Linked DNA regions of Homo sapiens: region 1 is linked to region 2. The links are contacts of gene promoters, found by promoter capture Hi-C in human tissues and cell types (Jung and others, 2019). All regions are on one chromosome and are shown on one strand. The core of a region is centred on a gene start or on the middle of the fragment in contact, and the rest is flanking DNA. Distances in the headings are between cores, read along the strand shown.

What was found. Contacts are between HindIII fragments. The study calls those that stand out against the background at their distance.
Region 1: the fragment with the promoter of EFEMP2 here is called in contact with a fragment that was not itself captured in region 2 in 1 of the 25 tissues and cell types used here (dorsolateral prefrontal cortex).

What each region holds. Positions count from the first base shown.
Region 1 is chr11:65,871,034-65,876,185 of GRCh38, forward strand. It overlaps EFEMP2 (EGF containing fibulin extracellular matrix protein 2), which reads right to left and starts at 1,767. Exons shown (of 11, transcript NM_016938.5): 1 at 1,650-1,767; 2 at 1,211-1,328; 3 at 937-985; 4 at 124-330. The coding sequence starts at 1,321. RefSeq lists a silencer at 2,770-2,829. The HindIII fragment of the contact is 15,058 bases long and covers 1-5,152 here.
Region 2 is chr11:66,327,310-66,332,538 of GRCh38, forward strand. It overlaps RIN1 (Ras and Rab interactor 1), which reads right to left. Exons shown (of 10, transcript NM_004292.3): 10 at 2,932-5,229. The coding sequence ends at 4,967. Among named protein-coding and RNA genes, the nearest start is that of RIN1, 6.5 kb to the right of the region's middle. The HindIII fragment of the contact is 6,220 bases long and covers 848-5,229 here.

The DNA.
Region 1 (5,152 bases), core at 517-3,016, 460 kb before region 2:
GTGTCTGGATGAGGGTGTGGACATCACCAGTGGCCCTTTTGAGCTGGGGAGGAACATGAGGTCTGAGTTTAAGACGCCTGGTGAGAGGACTGGAAGCCAGGCACCAGAGCAGTCCCCACTCACCCACACAGCTGTCCTGATCGTCGGGCTCATAGCCTGGTGGGCAGGGGTTGGGGTGTTGAGCGGGAGGCACTGGTGGCGGGGGTCCCTCGCCGTGTAGGTCGTTGATGACGGCAGCGGAGCGGGGCAGGCACAAGTAGCCCCCGTAGTGGTTGATGCACTTCATTTCCCCCTTGCAGGCCTCAGGGATGGTCAGACACTCGTTGACATCTGCAGAGAGGGGCCTGCTGGGCACAGCCAGTCTCCTGGGCTGGCCCTGGAGGGAGCGGAGGCAGGAACCCAGCTCGGCCTTCTCTGAGATGTGTGGCCCCAGCAAAGCCTTCCCACTCTGCTCAACAAGCTAAGTCTGCCTGCTCAGGACCCCTCCCCAGGGTTGGCCAAGGCTGGAGATGGGGCAGCTGTTCCCACTGTTGCCCTCATTCTCGGCCTGCAAGTGGGTCTCTATCCCTCCCCACGGCCCTAGCCCTAGCTCAGCCCAAGATGGGGGGCCTCCTTACCCACCCCTGGGGACGCTACCCTCCCAGGTTGTGATGAGACAAAGAGCTGGGACAGGAGAGTGGTTCAGAGAAGGCGTACAGGATCCAGCTCCTCTGAGGGGTAGGGACAAGGTTTCCTGGGTTTCTGGGAGAGGATGAGGCCACCCCTAGCTCAACTGGCCTCCAGAGAGCCAGAGCTGGCCTCTGTGTAGCAGAGCTGGGCATAGAACGGGCTGCTGGGCTCCCACGGCAGTTCTTGGAGGTGGGGCTGTCCCTTGGAAAGCAGCTATCAATCCCTTTCCGGGTTCCTGGGGGTGTTTGGTCCCCCAGGCACACACACCCCGGCAGTGCTGGCTGTCTGGGTCCCACTCATAGCCATCTGTGCATTCCTGGAAGGGAACCAGAAGTGGCCAGTGGTCACCCTAAGATCTCCTCCAACTGGCCAGGCCAAGACTAGGGCCTGAGCCTGGCCACCCTCCGGCCTGCTCCAAACAATGGCCCCCAGCTCTCCACCAGCCAGGGGAGGAAGACTTCCCCGGCAGCAGTCACCCTGGGTCCCGGTCTCTTCCTCCCTACCCTTCCTGTCCCAGGCCAGCGGCCCTCACTGTCCCCACCGTGTAGCTGTCGGGCTCTTCAGAATCCTGAGGAGAAGCTGATCCCAAGAGCAACAGTAGCAGCGCCCAGAGCAGTAGAGACCCGGGTAGGCAGGAGGCGCAGGGGAGCATCCTGGGGCTGCGAGATGGTGGACACGGGTCAGGGGCCTCTGCCCGCGGCACCTCAACTCCCTGTACCGGGAGCCCGAGCCCAGCCCCCGCCACTGCCCGCTCAGGACCGTGCTTGGGCCTCGGGGCCTCCCAGGGCTGGGGGCCGACTCCTCACAGGCCCAGGTCCCAGGCCCGGGTCCCAGGCCCACCCGCCCCGGCCACCCCGCCCCCGCCCCGCGCCCCTGCGGCGAAGGCCGAGGAGCGCGGGCCTCTGTGGGCGCTACGCTGCCGCGGACTCGGCCGAGACTCCGGCCCACGCCCTCCCCCACGGACGGTCACAGCCACTCACTTGGGCCCGCGACACCCCCGCGGCCCGCGGCTCTGGCGGCTCGGCTGGCTCGGGCAATGCCTGCGGGCAGACGGACGGGCGGACGGCACAGCTCCCTGGACGCGCGGCCCCAGGAAGCGCCCCCCGCCCGCCCGCCTGCCGCGGCGCGGCCCACCCCGGCGCCTCCGCCCGCCCTTCGGCGGATTCCTGAGCCAGCGCCAGGGGGAGGGACCCCGACCCCCCGCTTCTCCGCCCCCGGCCAGCCACAGGCCCCTACCCGGTCCCCCGCGGCGCCGCCAGGAGCCGCCTCCCGGCGCCGGACCAGGGTCCCCCAGTGCTCGATCCTGGGGCCCCGACCTTGATGCCAGGCCCCCAGACTCACCCGGGGGCCCCCAGACGCTCACCAAAAATGTCATCCTGCTCACCTAGGTCCTACCTAATCTGCGCCCCCAGAATTTCATCCTGTGCACCCACACCGTAATCCTGGAGCCCCCAGATTCTCATTGTGCGCCTCCCGAGATCGTCCTGGGTACCTAGAGCCCACCTAACCCAGTCCTCCAGACCCTCAATCTGCTCCCTGCAAAATTTTATTCTCTGCCCCAGACCGTCATTGTAAAAGATCCTAAAACTTCATCCAGGGTCCCCAGACCCTCGCCCAGGAACGAGAGGCTCCCAGGAGCAGAACTGTCCTTCTCGCTCCCTCCTGCCCTCCACCCCCAGGACCGTCTTCAGCCGGGTGGTCCTTTCACTACACACGGCCTCCCCCACACCCTCCATCCACAAAGCTACAAGTTTGGGGGCGAGGGCGGCAGTTCCCTTTTGGCACAAAATGAATGGAAGCCCCTGAGAAGGAGGGCAGGGCTGATGTCGGACGTGCGGGATGCCAGAGTCGGGTGCCAAGGCGCCTCCTCGACCTCCTCGCACCAGCGTCCCCCGCCCGGTTTCCGCCTCCGCCCGAAGTGGGGGCGTGTCCTTGGGGCGGAGTATGGGCGGGGCTGGCTCCCAGGAAGGGCGTGGCCTCTGTTTGCCCACGTCTTTGGGCGGGGCCAGGCGGGAAAGCACTGCGTGTCCGGGGATCCCCCGCCTGGGGCCCGCCCTTCCTTTCCCCTTGCCATCCCTGCTTATCCCCGCAGTCGCCCTCCACGTGACCCCGGGGAGGGAGTCTGCCGAGGAGGGGACGTGCTGGTGGGTCCCGCGGCGAGCGCCTGGGGCTCAGGTGAACTGCGCAGTGCCCGCTCCTCGCCACTCTGCCACCACCATCCCTCCCAGCTGCTGGGGCAGAAGGTTAAATAATAGCTCTTTAGGGGCCGGACGCGGTGGCTCAAGCCTGTAATCCCAGCACTTTGAGAGGCCGAGGCAGGTGGATCACCTGAGGTCAGGAGTTCGAGACCAGTCTGGACAACATGGTGAAACCCCGTCTCTACTAAAAATATAAAAATTAGCCAGGCGTGGTGGCGCGTGCCTGTAGTCGCAGCTACTCAGGAGCCTGAGGCAGGAGAATCACCTGAACTCGGGAGGTGGAGGTTGCAGAGAGCCCAGATCACACTGCTGCACTCCATGGGTGACAGAGGGAGACTCCATCTTAAAATAATAATAATAATAATAGGCCCGACGCGGTGGCTCACGCCTGTAACCCCAACACTTTGGGAGGCCAAGGTGGGCAGATCACAAGGTCAGGAGTTCAAGACCAGCCTGGCCAACATGGTGAAACCCTGTCTTTACAAAAACACAAAGAAATTAGCTGGTGTAGTGGCACGTGCCTCTAATCCCAGCTACTCGGGAGTCTGAGGCAGAATAATCTCTTAAACCCGGGAGGCAGTTGTTGCAATGAGCCGAGATTGTGCCATTGCACTCCAGCCTGGGCGACAGAGCGAGACTCCATCTCAAAAATAGTAATAATAATAATAGCTCTTTAAAACGAGAAAGACAGTAACAAGTGTTGGCAAAGATACGGAGAAACTGGAGCCCTCATGCACTGTTGGTGGACAATGGTCTGGCAGTTCCTCAAAATGTTATCACATGACCTGACAATTTCACTCCTAGGTATACATACCTAGGATAATTGAAAAGATATGTACACACACACAAATCTGTACGCAGCGTTTATAGCTGCACTATATATAAGAGCCAAATGCAGAAACAACACAAAAGCCGTCAACTGATGAATAACAAGATGCAGTACATCCACACAGTCGAACATTATTCAGCCATAAAAACTAATGAAGTACTGATGCATGCCACAATATAGGTGAATTCTTTTTTTTTTTTTTTTTTTTAATTGAGACGGAGTCTTGCTCTGTCGCCCAGGCTGGAGTGCAGTGGCGCCATCTCGGCTCACTGCCAGCTCCGCTTCCTGGGTTCACGCCATTCTCCTGCCTCAGCCTCCTGAGTAGCTGGGACTACAGGCACCCGCCACCAGGCCCGGCTAATTTTTTGTATTTTTAGTAGAGATGGGGTTTCACCGTGTTAGCCAGGATGGTCTCAATCTCCTGACCTTGTGATCCGCCTACCTTGGCCTCCCAAAGTGCTGGGATTACAGGCGTGAGCCACCGCGCCCGGCCAATATAGGTGAATTCTTGAAACTACTATGTGAAGTGAAAGAAGCCAGACACAAAAAGCCACATATTCCATTTATTTTTTATTTTTTTTAGATGGAGTTTCGCTCTTGTTGCCCAGGCTGGAGTGCAATGGCATGATCTCAGCTCACCACAATCTCTGCCTCCTGGGTTCAAGCAATTCTCCTACCTCAGGCTCCGGAATGGCTGGGATTACAGGTGCCTGCCACCACACCTGGCTAATTTTGTATTTTTAGCCGAGATGGGGTTTCACCATATTGGTCAGGCTGGTCTCGAACTCCCGACCTCAGGTGATCCACCCACCCTGGCCTCCCAAAGTGCTTGGATTACAGGCGTGAGCCACCGTGCCTGGCCCACGTATTCCATTTATATGAAATAACCAGAATAGGCAAACCCAGAAAAACAGAAAGTAGATTAATGGTTGCCAGAGGAAGGTGGGGAATGGGGAGTGTCTGCTAATGGGGTCTGGGTTTTCTTTGGGATAATGAAAATATTCTAACACTAGATAGTAGTGATGGTCACACAACTATGCAAACATACAAAAACCCACTGAATTGTACACTTCAAAAAAGTGAATTTTCTTTGGGAGGCCGAGGCGGGTGGATCATGAGGTTAGGAGATCAAGACCATCCTGGCTAAGACAGTGAAACCCCATCTCTACTAAACAAATTAGCCTGGCGTGGTGGCAGGCGCCTGTAGTCCCAGCTAATCGGGAGGCTGAGGCTGGAGAACGGCGTGAACCTGGGAGGTGGAGCTTGCAGTGAGCCGAGATCGCGCCACTGCACTCCAGCCTGGACGACAAAGTGAGACTCTGTCTCAAAAAAAAAAATGTGAGTTTTATAGTATGTAATAATACCACAATAGGCCAGGCACGGTGGCTCACGCCCGTAATCCCAGCACTTTAGGAGGCCAAGGTGGGTGGATCACCTAAGGTCAGGAATTCCAGAC
Region 2 (5,229 bases), core at 2,708-5,207:
CCAGCGTTGCCTGCCTCTGCCTCCTGCCTGGCTAGTGGGGTCACCACACCCCTCATGGGGGTCTTTTCCAGCAACCCACATCTCCCACCAGGGTCTAGCATGGGCTGGGGTGGGTGAGTGGTGGTGGGACAGGACAGGGCTGGAGTGAGGAGACTCGGGAGAGGGCTTGGACCGCTTCTGTGTGCTCCAAAGTATAAAAGTCTGTGTGTGTCTGTGTGTGTGTGTCTGTGTGTCTATGTGTGTGTGTGTCTGTCTTTGTGTGTCTGTGTGTCTGTGTGTGTGTCTCTGTGTGTCTATGTGTGTCTGTGTGTGTGTGTCTCTGTGTGTCTGTGTGTGTATGTCTCTGTGAGTTTCTGTGTGTGTCTTTGTGAGTGTGTCTCTGTGTGTGTTTGCACTTCAAATGCTTGGAGAGTGGGAAGGGGCAGCCGTGTGCTGTGTCTCGGGAGAGTGTGCGCCGTTGCGTCTGAGTGGGGGATGGAGTGTGCCGGTGGCAGTTCTGCACAGGTAGGTCTAGTGCATCATGGGATCCCAGTGTAGGTGGTCACCATGTGTCTCTGTGTCAGCCTGTCCCCATGTGTGTGTCCAGGAGTCACACTCTGAACCCAAGAACAAGGGTGCTGAAATATTTCAGTGTTTGCAGATCCAGGGATGTCTGAGTGGGTGGCTGGTCTGTGTCAGGGTGTGTCTGGGAGGAGGGGCGCCAGTGTGTCCCTGCACCCCATCCCGCAGGAGTGAATGGCTGACAGTGTCAGGGTGTGCCTGTTAACCCTGGGGGTGCCCCAGGGTTGTTGCACGTGCCCGTGGCTGGCAGGATGTGCACCCTGTGTGGGAATGTGGGTCAGACAGTGTCACTGTGTGTTAATTGTGGGTGTGAACATGGGTTGCAAGGCCATGGCAGGGTGCTAGATGCTCTGTGTTGAAGGTGTGGCAGGGTAGGGTGGGTCTCAATGACTGCCTTCTGCTGCAACCCTTTCAGGCCACCAGTAGGCCCCTGGTTCCTAGAGCACACTGGCCCACAGAACCAGGGATATGCAGCCCTTCCCTCACCCCCCATTCGCAGGGTCCCAGGGACCCACCACTGGGTGCTTTCCTCCTAGCAGCAGGCTGGGAGCACTGAGTCCCCTGGGTCCTCCGCCTCAGCAGAGGGGACCCTGCACGTGGCCAGGAATGAGGTGCGCTCTGCCCCCTGGTGGCAGCAATGAAGGATGCGCCACCCTGCAACCCAGGAAAGCGGAGGGACAGTTTAGGCTGCGTCTTTCCGAATCAGTCATTCCACATAGATTCACAAGTGCCAGTTCCGGCCCGGCCATTGTTCAAGGCCCTTGAGATTTAACTGCGAACAAGGTGGGGGTGGCTCTGGCATTCTAGTGAGGGAAACAGACAATAAACTTGCATACAGAACCACCGTGACTTTAGGAGTGATAAGGTCAATGCTTCCAAGTAAGGAAATGACCCGACTGCTCTTTCATAGATCCAAACGTCAGAGTTCCAGTCTTGCCCTGCAGCAGCGGACGCTGGGCCAGGCATGTCACCTCTTGGAGCCTTGGCTTCTTTTTCCATAAGGACAAAGGCTGGGGAAGGGGTGGCATGGAATCCCTAGGACACAGTGAGCTTTCAGTTACCACCCAGATCACGCCATGCAAATGGAGAGATGTGACCTATTTCCCTTTGGCTGGAGCTGGGGGCGCTTGGTGCTTGGTCTATAACAGACACTTCTGTTGTTGTTGTTGTTGTTTGATTTTTTTTTTTGGAGTCTTGCTCTGTCGCCCAGGCTGGAATGCAGTGGTGTGATCTCAGCTCACTGCAACCTCCACCTCCCAGGTTCAAGCAATTCTCCAGTCTCAGCCTCCCAAGTAGCTGGAACTACAGGCGTGAGCCACCTTGCCCAGCTAACTTCTATATTTTTAGTAGAGATGGGGTTTCACCATGTTGGCTAGGCTGGTCTTGAACTCCTGACCTCAGGTGATCTGCCTACCTCGGCCTCCCAGAGTGCTAGGATTACAGGCCTGAGCCACCTTGCCCGGCCTATAACAGATGTTTGATAGATGTGCTGAGTGGACATATAAATCAGCCCCTCTGCTTTGAAGGACTACAGAACCTGGTGTCTGAGCCCTTTGTCCTGTAACAAGGCACTTTCCCTGAGCAAGTCTGAGTTTTCTCATCTGTAAAATGGGGCTAGTGAGACTGGTCTTACACTGGCCTATCATTGTCTGCCTTGCCTGGAGGCTCTGCCCCAGGATCATAATCTTGTTGATGCTGATTTGGCCTGGACCCCTGACCAATCAGTTTCTTTTTTGTTTTCTTTTCATTTCTTTTTTTTTTTTGAGATGGAGTCTTGCTCTGTTGCCCAGGGTGGAGTGCAGTGGTGTGATCTCGGGTCACTGCAACCTCTGCCTCCCGGGTTCAAGTGATTCTCTTGCCTCAGCCTCCCCAGTAGCTGGGACTACAGGTGTGTGCCACGACGCCTGGCTAATTTTTGTATTTTTAGTAGAGACGGGGTTTCACCATGCTGGCCAGGCTGGTCTTGAACTCCTGACCTCAGGTGATCCACCGGCCTCGGCCTCCCAAAGTGTTGGGATTACAGGCGTGAGCCACCAGGCCCAGCCCAGAGTTTCTTGAGAAGAAAAACCACAAGACCCAGGCAGCAGCTCCCTGTGGTGCCCCATCACTGGGGAGGGCAGGGAGGGGGTCAGGTCATGCTGAGCCTGGCAAGGGTGGGAAGGGCTTGTAGAGGCCCCAGAGCCTCATTCCCATGAGGCCAGTTGTACATCCGGCCCCTGGGATCCTCCGAGCACCCTCTACAAACATTCCAGGTCCTTCCTCTGGGACTGAGCTTGACACATCCCGTGTTTGATTCCCAGAACCGAGTCCTCCCTTATACTCCCCAGGTTTCTGCCTCACTGTCCCTCACTCCTGGTTATCAAACTCCAATCAGTGAACAACATTTATTGAACACCTATGGCATTTGTGCTCAGCATTGGACTGTGTGAGGCACTAGGGGTGAGTGGTGAAACAGGGAGGGGAATAGAAGAGCCAACGGGACACTTCCTATCAGCGAGAACCTTGGGAGGGCGTGGAAGTGGGGAGGGAAGAGCTGCTGGTGGCCTAGTGACAAAAAAAATGGGAGCCGTGCAACTGGGCTGTATCTGGACTGCTCATCTGAAAGTCAATGTCTGGCTGGGTGTGGTAGCTCACGCCTGTAATCCCAGTACTTTGGGAGGCCAAGGCGGGCGGATCACCTGAGGTCGGGAGTTTGAGACCAGCCTGGCCAACATGGGGAAACCCCGTCTCTACTAGTAACACAAAAATTAGCCAGGTGTGGTGGTGCACACCTGTAGTCCCAGCTACTCGGGAGGCTGAGGCAGGAGAATCACTTGAACTGGGAGGCGAAGGTTGCTGTGAGCCGAGATGGCACCACTGCACTTTAGCCAGAGCGACAGAGCAAAACTCCATCTCAAACAAACAAACAAACAAAAAAACCCAAAAAGCCAATGTCCACGATTTCTACCTCCCAGTTGTCATGTCTGACATTTGGGCTGACGTCCCCTCTGTGCTCAGTGCCCGAGGAGAGAGCCTCTGGGGTCATCCTCCATAAGGGGACAATTCCTTCCTTCCTGGGGATGGCCCCCAAGAGGCTGGCCTTACCCAGACCCCAGAATCTAAGGGACCTGGGGGCCAGTGGCCTTGGCCCCTGCGCTGTCCCCAGGTTGCCTGATGCTGCTGGACTGCAAGGCCCGGGACCCCCTCTGCTGCTGCAGCCTTGGAGGCGCCCTCACCCCTGGGTGGTCACCCTCTCGGCAGATTCCCGGGCCGTGCACACCCCCTCGTGGTTGGTGGTCGGCACTTTTCCTTGTTTGGATTTGCTGCCTGCTCTGGGCTTCCTTGGGGGCTGCCCCGGCCTTTGTGGGTGGCTTAGAATGGAGGGTGGAGTTGGAACCTGATGCCCTGGTTTGGGCGGGGGAACCCTTAAGGACTTGCTATATGACATCCTGGGAGTCACTTTCCTGACCCTCAGTGGGCCCAACAAGTCATGGCCAAGTAAAGCTTTTGTGAGGGCCAAGAGTTTAGTGCAGAGAGCATGGTTTCTGAGCCCCCTCTCCATTCTGGAAGCTTATCTGCCAGCTGGTGGATCTCCCCAGAGATGCTGGAGGGCCTGGGAGGACTCCAAATCTTGGGGAGAGACTGTAACTTGGGTACTTTCTCCCCAGGGCCTGATTTCCAGGGGAATAACCTCCCTGAACTGGGCATCAGCAGGTGGGAGCCCTGTCTGGCAGAGAGCGGACTCCGGGAGAGAGTTAGCAGCCCAGCTCTCTCCCTCCCTTTCTGCCATGAGCTCTGCTTGTAGCAAAATCACCCATTTTGATCACTGGGACACTTCTGGGAGCCGAGCAGGGCAGCAATAGTGTCCCCACTTTACAGATGAGAGTACTGAGGCTTGCAGGTGCAGGTCCTTCTGGTGTCCAGGACAGGGGTGGGCCCCAAGCCTTTGCTGCTGTTCTGTGGCCTCTCTAAATCCTCCTGACACCTAAGAGCCATTGGAACCTTTTAGGGTCTGGAAGTCCCAGCCTGGTGGGAGATACTTGGGTGGAGCCCTGCCTCAGCCATGCCCATGAGGGGAAGGGTAAAAGGAGCTGAGACCGTCACCCTCCCCACGTCAGAGGTTGGGCATCTGTCGGATTCGCCCCCACTTGGCACACCCTCATTGCAGGCTGGCTCACCCTCAGCTGGGGGAGAAGAACAAGAGGCAAGGGGCCTTGGGCACACAGTCTGGGGGCCCCCGAAGCCCCCTCATCTTTATTCCAGTTCCTCAGATGTGGCAGTTCCCCCAGCTTCCCTGGAAACAAGTATCAGACAAAGGTGGTGGCAGACACAGGACAGGGCCCTGGGTGGGGCTTGCTGGCGCTAAAAGGATTTCTCAGCAGGCTCAGGGTCTCCCGCCCCGAATGACCCTTCTGGCCACTTCAAGCTACTCCTCTGCTGCCCGGCTTCCCTCTGCCTCTGGTTCCCCTGGCTGAGCAGGGCCTTCCTGGGCTTGACCCTGGCCCCCTTCAGCAGTTGTCTCAGACTGTTCCCGAATGTCCCTGGGGCTGGCTTTGACCCCAGCATCCCCATCTCCCTGGCACCCTTGCTCCTCCCCTCTGCTTCTTGCCTCTGACTGCCCACTGCCCTCCTCCTCTGTCACAGCCCCCTGGGTCTCAGGCCACTCCGCCCGGCGGTAGACGAGGTAGC